Linked DNA regions of Homo sapiens: region 2 is linked to region 1. The links are contacts of gene promoters, found by promoter capture Hi-C in blood cells and fetal thymus (Javierre and others, 2016). All regions are on one chromosome and are shown on one strand. The core of a region is centred on a gene start or on the middle of the fragment in contact, and the rest is flanking DNA. Distances in the headings are between cores, read along the strand shown. Region 1 holds the start of DEF6 (DEF6 guanine nucleotide exchange factor). Region 2 overlaps ARMC12 (armadillo repeat containing 12).

The links. Contacts are between HindIII fragments. The CHiCAGO score rates a contact against its expected background, and 5 or more counts as called.
Region 2: a fragment that was not itself captured here is called in contact with the fragment with the promoter of DEF6 in region 1 in 1 of 17 cell types (non-activated CD4 T cells); the score reaches 6.1 in non-activated CD4 T cells.

The regions. Positions count from the first base shown.
Region 1 is chr6:35,293,127-35,299,565 of GRCh38, forward strand. DEF6 (DEF6 guanine nucleotide exchange factor) reads left to right here and starts at 4,692. Exons shown (of 11, transcript NM_022047.4): 1 at 4,692-4,826. The coding sequence starts at 4,731. It overlaps ZNF76 (zinc finger protein 76), which reads left to right. Exons shown (of 14, transcript NM_003427.5): 12 at 625-789; 13 at 1,330-1,443; 14 at 2,018-2,859. The coding sequence ends at 2,122. RefSeq lists a silencer at 3,029-3,193. The HindIII fragment of the contact is 28,623 bases long and covers 1-6,439 here.
Region 2 is chr6:35,747,657-35,753,866 of GRCh38, forward strand. It overlaps ARMC12 (armadillo repeat containing 12), which reads left to right. Exons shown (of 6, transcript NM_001286574.2): 6 at 882-1,423. The coding sequence ends at 1,214. Among named protein-coding and RNA genes, the nearest start is that of ARMC12, 14 kb to the left of the region's middle. RefSeq lists a silencer at 1-16. The HindIII fragment of the contact is 5,130 bases long and covers 544-5,673 here.

The DNA.
Region 1 (6,439 bases), core at 3,442-5,941:
ACAGCCCCACTGCCACCCAGCTTCTTGTTTAAGTTTTATAGACTTCAGAGGCTGAGGCTGAGGAGACCACATCTTGCAGCACAGCCTCTCCTCCTCCTGTGCTTCCAGCTCAGTCTCTGGGGCTTCTAGAGCACAGTTAGTAGTTTCTCTCTTTACTTGGAGGCTGACAGGTCCTGTTCATCTGAACAGGATATGGGATGTCCTTCTCAAGAGAGGCATGTTCATATAGCAGCCAGAACATGGTATGGGGTCTGAAAGCCTGGGGTCTGGTCCTACTAGTGTACTAGCTAGCTATATAACCTGACCCTTGTCCGTACCCTTGCTAGAAAGTACATCTGTGCTTTCTAGAGTTGTTAGGACACAATCAGGTGGCGACCCTGAGCTGGATACAACAGGGCCCAGAGGCAAAGTGGTGATAAATAGAAGTAGTCAGTGGAATTCTTCTAGTGTGGCCTCTCTTTGCAACCTTGGACCCATTTTGTTTGCCTGTCACCCATCCCTTCCACCACTATGACATGAAACTAATAAGCTGACCTTGTCTGGGAGAGCAGGTATATCTTCCTTAGGGACTTTCAGACAACCCTCCACTGACACTGCCAGCTCATCTTCCCCTCCTGTTGGCAGGTCAGCCTGTCCCCGGAAGACCTGCAGGCCCTGGGGAGTGCCATCAGTATGGTCACCCAGCACGGCAGCACCACCCTCACCATCCCCAGTCCTGATGCCGACCTGGCCACATCTGGCACACATACAGTCACCATGGTCAGCGCCGATGGCACCCAGACGCAGCCCGTATGACCAGGCGGTTTGCTTGGGGTTTCTTATTTTGTCATTCCTTTCCATGGGGCGGGCATTAAAGTGCAGCCTAAACTAGTCAAGTCTTCTTACCAGGACAAAGATTCCCCACAAAAGAAGGGGTCTTCCCCACAGTTCCTGGGCCATGAGCAGCTCTTACCTTTAAAAGCAGTTGAATGGAGGTCAAGAGACACTTTCTAAATCTCAATTCAACCCTGATTTGTTGTGCAACCTTAGGCAAATCACTTTTCCATGGACTTCTGTCCATTTTCAAGTGAGGGGATTAAAATATCTCTGGAATTTTTTACAGCTCTGTCCTTCTGTGATTCAAAATCCCTAAATTAAATTGGGCTCTAAGTTGGGAGGAAACCCAGCCTTACTTAGCTCTGAGCCTCAGGCTAATTAATCTGACCCATACGGTTTTATCCATTCTCTTCTGGGTTGTTCCCAGCACCTTAATTGGAGGGATGTTTATTTGGATTGTGGGGAGGGAGAGTATACTGCAGGTGGAATGGAAGACCTCCTTTTGTCTTTCAGGTCACAATCATTACCTCTGGGGCTGTGGTGGCTGAGGACTCAAGTGTAGCATCTCTTCGTCATCAACAGGTGGCACTGTTGGCCACAGCCAACGGAACGCACATTGCAGTGCAGGTGAGTAGAGATCTGGGAGGAAAGGGGATCCCACGGCCAGAGAAGTCAACAAGGAATAAAGGGGAATTAGATGAGGATCTTGAAGAGAAGGGCATCTGACTCAAAAAGAGCCCATTTCAGAGGACAGATCCCTTTCCTCCTGCATCCATGCATCTGTCTCAGGCTCGCTCTTGGCTGAGGCAGAATGTTGAAGCCTCTTCTGGCCTTCAGGATAACTCCGATGGCAGTCCACCTGTGGTCCAAGCCCTTCATCATTTTGTGTCTCTGTTTCTTCATCTGGAAATGAAGGAGGCTGACGTAGATGATCACCACGGTTCTCTTCAGCCAGTCCTTCCTCCGTGAGCAAGTGGGTCTCTCTGACCCTGGCTATTCCAGGGCCCCCTGGCCATGCCTAGCCTAATAGGACTCTTCATCCGTGAACTTCATGTTTATTGGAGCCCTACTAAGTGCTCAGCGTGTGGCACTGGGTAGATGGGGGAGAGTCAAAAAAAAAAGTAGGCCACATATTACTAACACTGGAATCTAGCAGGGAGGGTCTCACTGTCTCCTTCCTTCTGCACCCCCTTCCCCACAGCTGGAGGAACAGCAGACCTTAGAGGAGGCCATCAATGTGGCCACTGCGGCCATGCAGCAAGGGGCTGTGACCCTGGAGACAACAGTGTCGGAGAGTGGCTGCTGAGTCCAAGAGGGCTGGGTCCCACACCATGCTGGAGGAAGTGCCATCTGCATGGCCACTCTTGCCCCCAAGGGCCCAGGCTGTGGCTGACACATAGAAGGTGGCCACATAGGTCTCTGGGGTGAGAAGACAGCAAGAAAACTGCCTAACTGAAGGGAATGGGGGCCCTGCTCAAGAAGGGGGCCAGGCAGCTGGAATCAGGGGAGTGCATCATCCTCGGGAGCTGACAACAGCCAGGCTACACCAGGGCACCCGCCTCTCAAAATCAGCTGGGCGCCCACTCTCCTCCTAAAGAACACCCTTCTGGCCCTCAGTCTGTTCCCCTTCTCAGGTAGAGATTGGGGCTGCTATGGGGACTGGCCCTGTAGGGTTGAGCCACAGACAGCTCTTCAGCCCAGTAGCAGTGGAGCAGGCCCTGTCCTGCCCTCCCAGCAATAACCACCTCCCTGGAGGCCAGCTGAGATGCCTGGCTACTTGGCACCAGGGACTTCCTGACACCACAGTCAATTAATTCCTCAGGGGCCTGTGGCTGAAGAAAAGGTGCCCAGCCCCCACCACTCCTCAGCTGCCCCCCAACCTCTCTATGGCAGAGAGGCAGGGAGTGGCCCTGTACATAGACTGCTGGGGATTGGGTTTGATTTGTTTTGTTTTTTTTAATTCCATTTTGATAATTTTTTTCCTGCTCTGGGTGGTGGTGGCACATGGATGAATGAGTATTTAATAAAAGTTCCAAATTTCCACCTGGGTCCCTCCATCCTTTCAGCTCTAGGCCCGGGTGGCAGGGTTGGTCAAATCAGGCTATCAGCCCTGTCTCCCTGGCACAAACCCCACTCAGCCTTGGTGCCAGAGTGGTGGGGCTGGCCTGCCAGGGACACAGGTGGGAAGGAAGCCCAGTATAAGATAAAGCCCTGAGGAGCTGCTGGTGGCTTCTTGCCCACAGCTGAGCAGGTGGGCTCCAGGGTAGCCAAACAGGACCAGGGTGACCGCTGCTTCCAGGCTCTGGCTGAATCTCAGGCCTCATGTGATTGAGCTGGGGGAACTCTTTTCCTGCCTTTTCTTGTGAAACGTAGTCAGAGCCCCTCCAACCCAGCCACCCCCAAATCACACAGTCAGCTTCTCCAAGAGGGCAAAGCCCCAGGTTAGAGTGAGGCTGGGGGACACCTTTGCCAAGGTTACTGAGATTCAAGGAGCAGAGTCTGATGCCTCTGGAGCTGAAGTCTTGGCTCTATTACCCAGCTCTGGGGGTGCCCACCTAGGTGCCTAGGACTGTGCTGTGGGATTTCAAAGCCACAATCAGACCCCACTGAAAAGTGAGTTGGTGAGACCAGATCAGCTCCAGGGGGAAGAAGGGATACAGGGGAAGGCACTTGATGGGAAGAAGCTCTGGGTTTGACTCTGCCTACACAGGAACATTGCAGGGATTGGTGGTGCCTCTTTTCCTCTCTCTGCTGTGATGGATATGCCCCAACCCCTTCCTGCCTCCTAGGATTGGAACCCCCTCCTCTGATCCAGGCATCCTCTCCCAGGATGCCTAGAAAGCTCCCATTTACTCTTGCCACCAGCTCCTTGGGAAGAGAGGGGCGGGGGCGTGCTTCCAGGCAGGAGGTATTCCCAGCACCTTACTTGGAGGGATTTTTATTTGGCTTAGGGGGTAGGGGGAGGTGTCTTAGAATTGGCCTGAGCAGATGTCTTCAACATCTGTGACCACCATTCCTGGTGTGGGCGTGTCCCAGTCCTTTTGGACACTGGATCTGAAGAAAGGAAGCACTGACATGGAGGGCCCTGAATCCCAAGCCTGCTGCTGCTGGGACCCTTAAAGTTGAGGTGCACCACAAGGCTCACCCCCATGTGTTTCAGGAAGTTTCCAGTGTCTTCAGGGCTACTGGGGCTAGAGTGGGCAGTGCTCTGAGTACCGTTTAGAGCCAGTGCTGAGGGGATAGGGAGCCAGCAAGTCAAGTGCCACATCCTGACCTGGAGAGGTGCCCTGGCCCATTTCCTTCTCCAGCTTTGTGATGTTGCCTTTGTTTCCTTCCACTTGGATGGAGTCCCACCACCATGGTAATGTTAAGTAGCACCAAAAGCTCTACCCAGAGCCTACTATGTGCTTTACGTCCATTCTCAGACATTCTTACAACACGGAGGCATTTTTCCTGCTTTACAAATGAGGAAACTGCTCAAGGAGGTTAAGTAACTTACCCAAGGCCTCCTATGTTGAACTAGGACTGGACCTTTACTCTGTCTGACCCCAATATCAGGATGAGCTTGCTTTTTCCCTCAGCAAGCTGCGTCTGGGAGCCCTGGAAGGCTCCAGAAGCCTCCGGGTCTGAGGAGGCTTCTAAAAGGGCCTCACATGCCCCGGGAGCCACGTGGATACAGAACGAGGGTTCCCGCTCTCGGAGAGTTGGTCCCCAGTTCCCATGCAGGGAGTGGAGCCTCTGAGCACTGCCAGAACAACAGGCAGGGTTCTCGACAGCACAGAGCCTCACGCAATGTGCAGGCAGGTGGTGCTCTCGCTCCACCACGGCACCTCTGCGGTCTCTGCAGCCGTTTGCATTTCCTGAAACCGGATCTTAGTGTCAGAGCCGCCCCCAGCCGGGCGGGCGCCTCAGCCATGGCCCTGCGCAAGGAACTGCTCAAGTCCATCTGGTACGCCTTTACCGCGCTGGACGTGGAGAAGAGTGGCAAAGTCTCCAAGTCCCAGCTCAAGGTGAGGGGCACCCGGGACCCGGGGGAGGACGGCAGATGCACCACACCAGCCCCTGCCGCCTGGGAGCCAGGTGTGGACACTGTGCCACTCCAGGGGCACCCAGCCATCCAGCGTCCCGGGCCTGGGGTCGGGGGGCTGGTCCTGGGTAACTGGGCCAACGTAGCCTGGTAGATGCCGCTGCCCACCCTCCAGAGACCTAGTGAAGTGTGTGCAGAAACCTTGCGCAGAACTGGGCCCCACAACTGGAGGCCAGGAGGTTCTGAGGGCCATTATGGGGTTCTGAGGGCCAGGAGCCAGGCCACATCCCAGACTCTGTGTGATGAGCACACACACCTCCACAGAGTCATGCTTGGGCACGCAGTGTGCTCTTTCTTGCTGCTTCCTCCTGACTTTCAAGAGAAACAGTTAGCCAGTGCTTGGCAGTCATTTCCTCTGGAGCTGAGAGAGGCATAAAGGGGCCGCCCCCAGTCCCAAACCTGTCTGGCCTGTCTAACCCTGCCCGCCAGGTGGGACAGAGCTGCGGAGTGGGTGAGGACTGAGGACCCTATTATACTGCTACGCAGCTCACCCCCCTATCCACCACACATATCAGGTTGGGAAACTTACCTTAGGCCTTGAGACCTCAGGTAGGGAAGGGGGAGAATCTAAGCCCAGGAAAATCCCAATCAATGATTGTCCTGAAGTCAATCATCTGGCCTAGACAATTTCTGGGAGGCCAAGGAGTTTTTCTCTCTCTTCCTCTAGTCCTCCAGTAGTGCTGCCTTCCCTACCCTAGTTAGTGGGGAGGAAGCAAGGCCCTCAGCCACTAGAATCAGCGAACACTGGGGGAAAGGAGCAAGGTAGGCCTCAGCTCTCTAGGACCTGCCATAGGGGTGCCTTCGTTCACTCTGCAAGTACTTGAGTGCCCCTCGTGAGGCTCTGTGCCTGGCATGTGGCTAGGCACTAAACTGGTGTCTCCCTGCCCCATCCTCCAAAGGAGACGTGTGGTCTCAAGGAAACCTCCATTCTTAATGACCGAGGTAGAGGGTGCTGGATACCTGAGAGATGAATGGGACAGAACAGTTATTGTGCCCCACCACCGTTCCAACCCCCTACTTTACTGAACTTGGATGTGAGGAACTTGAATATCCCAAACTGGTCCTATGTTAAATTCCTTACCTGGATTTGTGAGCATCTAATAGATGATTTCACTCCCCCAGGAAGGAGAGCCCACTACTATCTTTTGTCACCTAGGGAGAACCTCCTAACAGGCAGATTCTTCCTTACATCCTATTTAAATCTCTTGTATTGCAGATCATGTCATTTGGTTGGGTCCTCAGTATAAATGGAAAAAAGTCGATCATCCAAAATCCATTTCTGCAAACTCTGTGTCCCACCCCTACCTCCCACCCTGTCCCTTTAATATCTTGCCAGACAATACCAGCCCCCGTGGCTTTTTGCTTCCAGGGTAACATTTTCCACTTCTGTATTACCTGTGGCCACTGAGACCTCTCCAGGCTCTCTCTGCCCTTCACATGGAAAGTACAGCCTTTAAGTGGCTCCCCTTTTCCTGGTGCCATCAGCCAGTAAAGCCTCCTAGCTTGAGCCTCTGTCTTGCCCTCTAAAAGGGCCAC
Region 2 (6,210 bases), core at 1,859-4,358, 450 kb after region 1:
AAATTGAAGAGGGGCTGATGAATGCCAACTCAGGTATAGGGGGAGGGAAGAATCATGGCATCTCCAGACAGATTTACCCCTGATGAATTGTTTTAGTATCTTCCTGCCTCTGCACTAAATGCACTGAAAATCATGCCTCTTCTGTTCCCCCCAGTAGAAGGAGACTCCATTTTATTGGGAGGGGGATCCCCCTTTGAGGCATTTCCTGAACTCTGAGAGTTAGGAACACAGGAGACAAAACAAAAGTTAATGTAGGTATTTTAATATTGGGGGGAAATTACTATGGCAAAGAGCATTATTAGGGATAGAAAAGGTTACTCTGTGATAATCAGTGGTTCAGTTCACCAGAACAGTAGGGCAACTCTAAACTTGTATGCACCTAATAACATAGTCTCAAAATATATACGACAAAAATTGAAAGGAGAAATTAACAAATATACCACTACAGTGGGAGATTTGGAATATTTTAACCATTCTTGCAGCAACTGATAGATTAAAAAGCCAAAATTAGTGAGGATATACTCTTAGTGAATAACACAAATAAGCTTGAGCCATTAGACATACTCAGAACAGTCTACAAGGATTAAATGCACAGTCCTCTCAAGCACACACACAATACTTAAGAAAATTAGTCACACACTAAGCCTTAAAATTTGTCTCAACAAAATTTCCAGAATGAATATTATCATATCACTCATGTTTTATGATCACAAGGCAATTAAATTAGAGGATAATAATAAAAGAAAAACTAAAAAATTACTATATACTCGAGTCTGAAATTTAGGTATATTTGGGAGTTTAGGCAATAGGAATATACAAGAACAAGAATTTTGTAACTTGCCTAGGAGTTTATTCCCATTCTTTCTCTATTCCCATCACAGGTTCACTCCAACTTCCTAAACCTGTTCCAGCCCACACAGTCAGGGAGTCTCCTGTATGAGGTACTGGTGTTTGCTGAGCGGCTGAGTGAGGGCCGGAACGCACCCCACTACCACGTGGTGAAATGGCATTACAACGAACAGTCCCTGCATGAATCCCTCTTTGGGGAAGAGTCCCGACTGGCAGACCGACTACTTGCCCTGGTCATCCACCCTGAGGAAGATGTTCAGATCCAGGCCTGCAAGGTCATTGTCAGCCTGCAGTATCCCCAGGACTTGAGAGCCCGGCCCTCCTCCTGCCAGCCCAGTCGTTCCTACTTTAAAAACACGGAATAAAATTAAGGAGAGCCAATAAATGAGTATAGGAGAGAAACTTGAAGTTTCTTGAAGCTCGAATGTCTGTTGGTGGCCTTCCAGGGCTGGGTGGAGATTTCATTCAGCATAACCTCTGCTCCAGAGTGTGGTACAGCATGGGCTTATCTCTCAAAACACATCCCCACTTCTATGTTTGGGGGACTAGCTCCCCTCTTCTCTTGCTGCTTTTCTTTCTTTTTTTTTTTTTGAGATGGAGTCTTGCTCTGTTGCCTAGGCTGGAGTGCAATGGCACAATCTTGGCTCACTGCAACCTGCGCCTCCCTGGTTCACGCCATTCTCTTGCCTCAGCCTCCCGAGTAGCTGGGACTACAGGCGCCCGCCACCACGCCCAGCTAATTTTTGTATTTTTAGTAGAGGTGGGGTTCGGCATGTTGGCCAGGCTGGCTCTTGCTGCTTTTCAAATCAATGTGGAGCCATTGCTTTCAGGGGGTTGGAAGAAGGCAGGCTTGGGGATTGAAGCCAAAGATAATCAACAGGACGCAGTATAGCATTAGATTAGTTAGGATGGGCCAGGCTATCCCACAGTAACAACACTCACACCTCAGTGGCTTAAACATGGCAAAGGGGGCCAGGCGCGGTGGCTCACGCCTGTAATCCTAGCACTTTGGGAGGCCGAGGCGGGCAGATCACGAGGTCAGGAGATCGAGACCATCCTGGCTAAAACGGTGAAATCCCGTCTCTACTAAAAATACAAAAAATTAGCCGGGCGTGGTAGCAGGCGCCTGTAGTCCCAGCTACTCAGGAGGCTGAGGCAGGAGAATGGCGTGAACCCAGGAGGCGGAGCTTGCAGTGAACCGAGATTGCGCCACTGCACTCCAGCCTGGGCGACAAAGCGAGACTCCGTCTCAAGAAAAAAAAAACATGGCAAATGTTAATTCTTGTTTACACTGCATGCCCATTGCAGATCAGCGGTGGGGGTGGAAGGGCAGGCCTCTACTCCACAACATCCTCACACAGAGACCCAGGTTGAGGGAGGCTTCCTCATTGTGTTTCTACAACTATTACAGAAGGACAGGGAATGTGGTAGTGATAAATGTCATCACTTCTGCTCACATCTCATTAGCCAAAGGGGATGAGGAAGATCATTCTTTCCACGTGTCCAAGGAAGAACTGTTGATCCTTGGTGACAGCATGAATGACAGAGATCTGCAGGCATACTGGGTCAGAAAGGGAGCTCTGGAATCAGAGTGCTCGCTTCCAGTCCCAGCTCTGTCACTTACTGTGTGACCTCAGGGGAGCAGTTAACCCTATTTGAGCTTCAGGCCCCTCATCTATAAAATGCATATAATAATAGTACTGATTTCATGACGCTGTTGGGAAAATGAAAGGGGGATTATATGAGTTAACGAACGTAAGCCACAGTGTTCTGCATGCATTCCTCAAAGATGGGCTCTGAGGAGCTATGAAATCATCACTGAGAAAGCCGGGCAGAGTGGCTCACGCCTGTAATCCCAGCACTTTGGGAGGCTGAGGCGGGAGGATCACCCGAGGTCGGGAGTTCGAGACCAGCCTGACCAACACGGAGAAACCCCGTCTCTACTAAAAATACAAAACTAGCCAGATGTGGTGGCGGGCACCTGTAATCCCAGCTACTTGGGAAGCTGAGGCAGGAGAATTGCTTGAACCCGGGAGGCAGAGGTTGCGGTGAGCTGAGATCACGCTATTGCACTCCAGCCTCAGAGACAGAGGTGCGAGACTCCATCTCAAAAAAAAAAAGAAATCATCACTGAGAAAACAAAAGATCATCACTGGGGAGGTCCTTGGAGAGTGTTGCCTCCAGCATTTCTCCAGTCTCTTCAGGTTATGGGCACTGGGGAGTCCTAGAGTCCTCTATGAAGCGTGCTGAAAAGTCATTGAAACTTAGCTTTGGAAACCAGAACAATGGTGTGAGTAATATAACACCATAACCATGAAGTTTCCAGAAACAAGAAGACTGTCAAACCAAATATGGTCATCCATTTTCCAATTCCCCATTCATTTGCGTTTCCCAGTTGTTCCTTCATTGTTTTTTTTGTTTTTTTGAGACGGAGTCTCGCTCTGTCGCCAGGCTGGAGTACAGTGGTACAATCTCAGCTCACTGCATCCTCTGCCTCCCGGGTTCAAGCAATTCTCCTGCCTCAGCCTCCCGAGTAGCTGGGACTACAGGAGCGCGCCACAACACCCAGCTAATTTTTTGTATTTTTTAGTAGAGAAGGGGTTTCACCATGTTGGCCAGGATGGTCTCGATCTCCTGACCTCGTGATCCCCCCACCTTGGCCTCCCAAAGTGCTAGGGTTACAGGTGTGAGCCACCACGCCCAGCCCTCATTCACTGTTTTATCTGTGAATCCTTGCTGGGAAACAGTAAGGATTGCTAACGGTTTAAGAAAATGCTACGGGAGAGAAACCTAATGTTGGAGCTATTCCCAGCCTGAGACTGCTCGATCTAGGACAAAGAACCTGGTCCAGCCACGGGCTCCCGGTGTTCTTCAGAAGCAGGATTTGAAAACTAGTCTCGTCCAGGACCAACCCTGGCATTTTCCTGAAAGGAAAACAAACCCAAAATGGAAAAGTGACTTGCTCAAGGTCACATGACTGGTCTAGGGCAGAAATAGGATTAGAACCTCCTACTACTGAGCTTTTCTTTTGCCCTCACATTCTTCGGTCCAAGCCCCGTAAGAGTGGGTCATGGATTCTAAGCCCAAACCTATGGAAACTGAGGAGGATCTTGATGCTTCTGGATTTTAGAGGCCAGTTTAGGACTGAAGTACTTAAAGGAAATCTGTCCCCACTTAATCCCTGGCCCAAGGTCATATCACTCAGGTGGAAGAGGGAGGGTGTTTCTTGATGAGGATGGGCTGATGAGAAAGAGCCAGAGCCTATAGAGAGGCCAACCCCGTCACTGTCTCCCAGAATGAGTGGGCAGTCACTACCAGATCTGAATCAGCATCCCTTGTTTCCCTCCTGAGTTCAGGCCTGAGGCTGCTCCTTCTTGCTGCTGAATACACTGCAGCCACCCCAGTGGAACTTGTCAAATGCCGACGTTTCCTTTCGACCAGCTCCATGTGTGCCCATGTCACCAACAAGGTGTTGGGCATCACTTTCAAATTCTCCTCCCCACCACATCCACCTAGTTCCCCCATTTCCACTGCTACTGCCCTGTCCTCCACATCAGGACTTGCCTACTTCTTTCTTTCTTTCTTTTTTTTTTTTTTTGAGACAGGGTCTCACTCTGTCTCCCAGGCTAAAGTGCAGTGGAGCAAACACAGCTCACTGCAGCCTCGACCTCCCAGGCTCACGTGGTCCTTCCACGTCAGCCTCCTTGGGTAGCTGGGACTACAGGAGTGTGCCACCGCGCCCAGCTAATCTTTTGTATTTTTTTTGTAAAGACGAGGTTTTGCATGTTTCCCAGGCTGGTCTCAAACTCCTGAGCTCAAGCAATCCACCTTCCTCAGCCTCCCAAAGTGTTGGGATTACAGGTGTGAGCCACCACACTGGGCCTGACTTTTCCTCCTCCTGGTTTCCATCCTCTCCAGCCCTACGCACTCCAGGCTAATTTTATAATCACACATGGCACCATTCTCAAAAACCTTCAGGGGCTCCCCATTGCCATGGTGAAATCTTTCTCGGCATCAAAGCAAAGTCACGTGATCTGACAGGTATAAATGTATTCTCAGCAAAAGGTTGAGTTTTGTCCTCAAAGATGTGGTCACTGGACCCCTTTTTTACATGACGAAACCAAATGAATTAGCTTTGCATTCAAGGCTCTTCACAGTGTGATCCTCTTGCCTGCCACAAGCCTACTGTGCCACATCTCTGCTCCAGCCAAACTGGAGCAAACTAGTCATTGCTGCCCTAATCATACCATGTGTACTCTTGCTCCAAACATGTTTTCTTTTTTTTTCTTTAAATTACTATTATAAAGAGAAGATGCCTCCAAACATTTTTTTTTTTTCCTTTTTTTGAGACGGAGTTTTGCTCGTTGCCCAGGTTGGAGTGCAAGGGCGCGATATCTCGGCTCACCGCAACCTCCACCTCCTGGGTTCAAGCGATTCTCCTGCCTCAGTCTCCCAAGTAGCTGGGATTACAGGCATGCGCCACCACCATGCCTGGCTAATTTTGTATTTTTAGTAGAGACGGGGTTTTTCCATGTTGCCCAGGATGGTCTCAAACTCCCGACCTCAGGTGATCTGCCCACCTCGGCCTCCAGAGTGCTGGGATTACAGGCATGAGCCACCGCACCTGGCTTACTTTTGATACAACTTTCCTGCTGCCTAGAATGCTAGAATGGCCTTCCCTCTTCTTCCAACTGGGTTGTGCCTTCTAGTGTCATCAAAGTTGACGTCCCACTGCAGCCTAGATCTTTTTTCAAGCATACTAGCCTCTGGTGCACCCTGCAGCACTTCTCATCTGAACCTCTCACTTGGCATTTGGCAAATTAAAGCTTGAATCTTATATACCTTGTTCTTTTATTCTTTTTTGCAGTAGGACATATGTTTTTTGTTCTTTGTGGTTTTTTTCTTTTGAGATGGAGTCTCACTCTGTCGCCTAGGCTGGAGTGCAGTGGCATGATCTTGGTTCACTGCAACCTCTGCATCCCCAGGTTCAGGAGATTCTCCTGCCTCAGCCTCCTGAGTAACTAGGATTATAGGTGCCCACCACCATGCCCAGCTAATTTTTTTTTTGAGACGGAGTCTTGCTCTATTGTCCAGGCTGGAGTGCAGTGGCACGATCTTGGCTCACTGCAACCTCTGCCTCCCAGGTTCAAGCGATTCTCCTGCCTCAGCCTCCCGAGTAGCTGGGATTATGGACACGCACCATCATGCCTGGCTAAATTTTGTATTTTTAGTAGAGACCAAGTTTCGCCATGTTGGCCAGGCTGGTCTCGAACTCCTGACCTCAAGCGATCTGCCTGCCTCGGCCTCACAAAGTGCTGGGTTTATAGGTTTGAGTCACTGTGCCTGGCCTGCCTGCAGTAG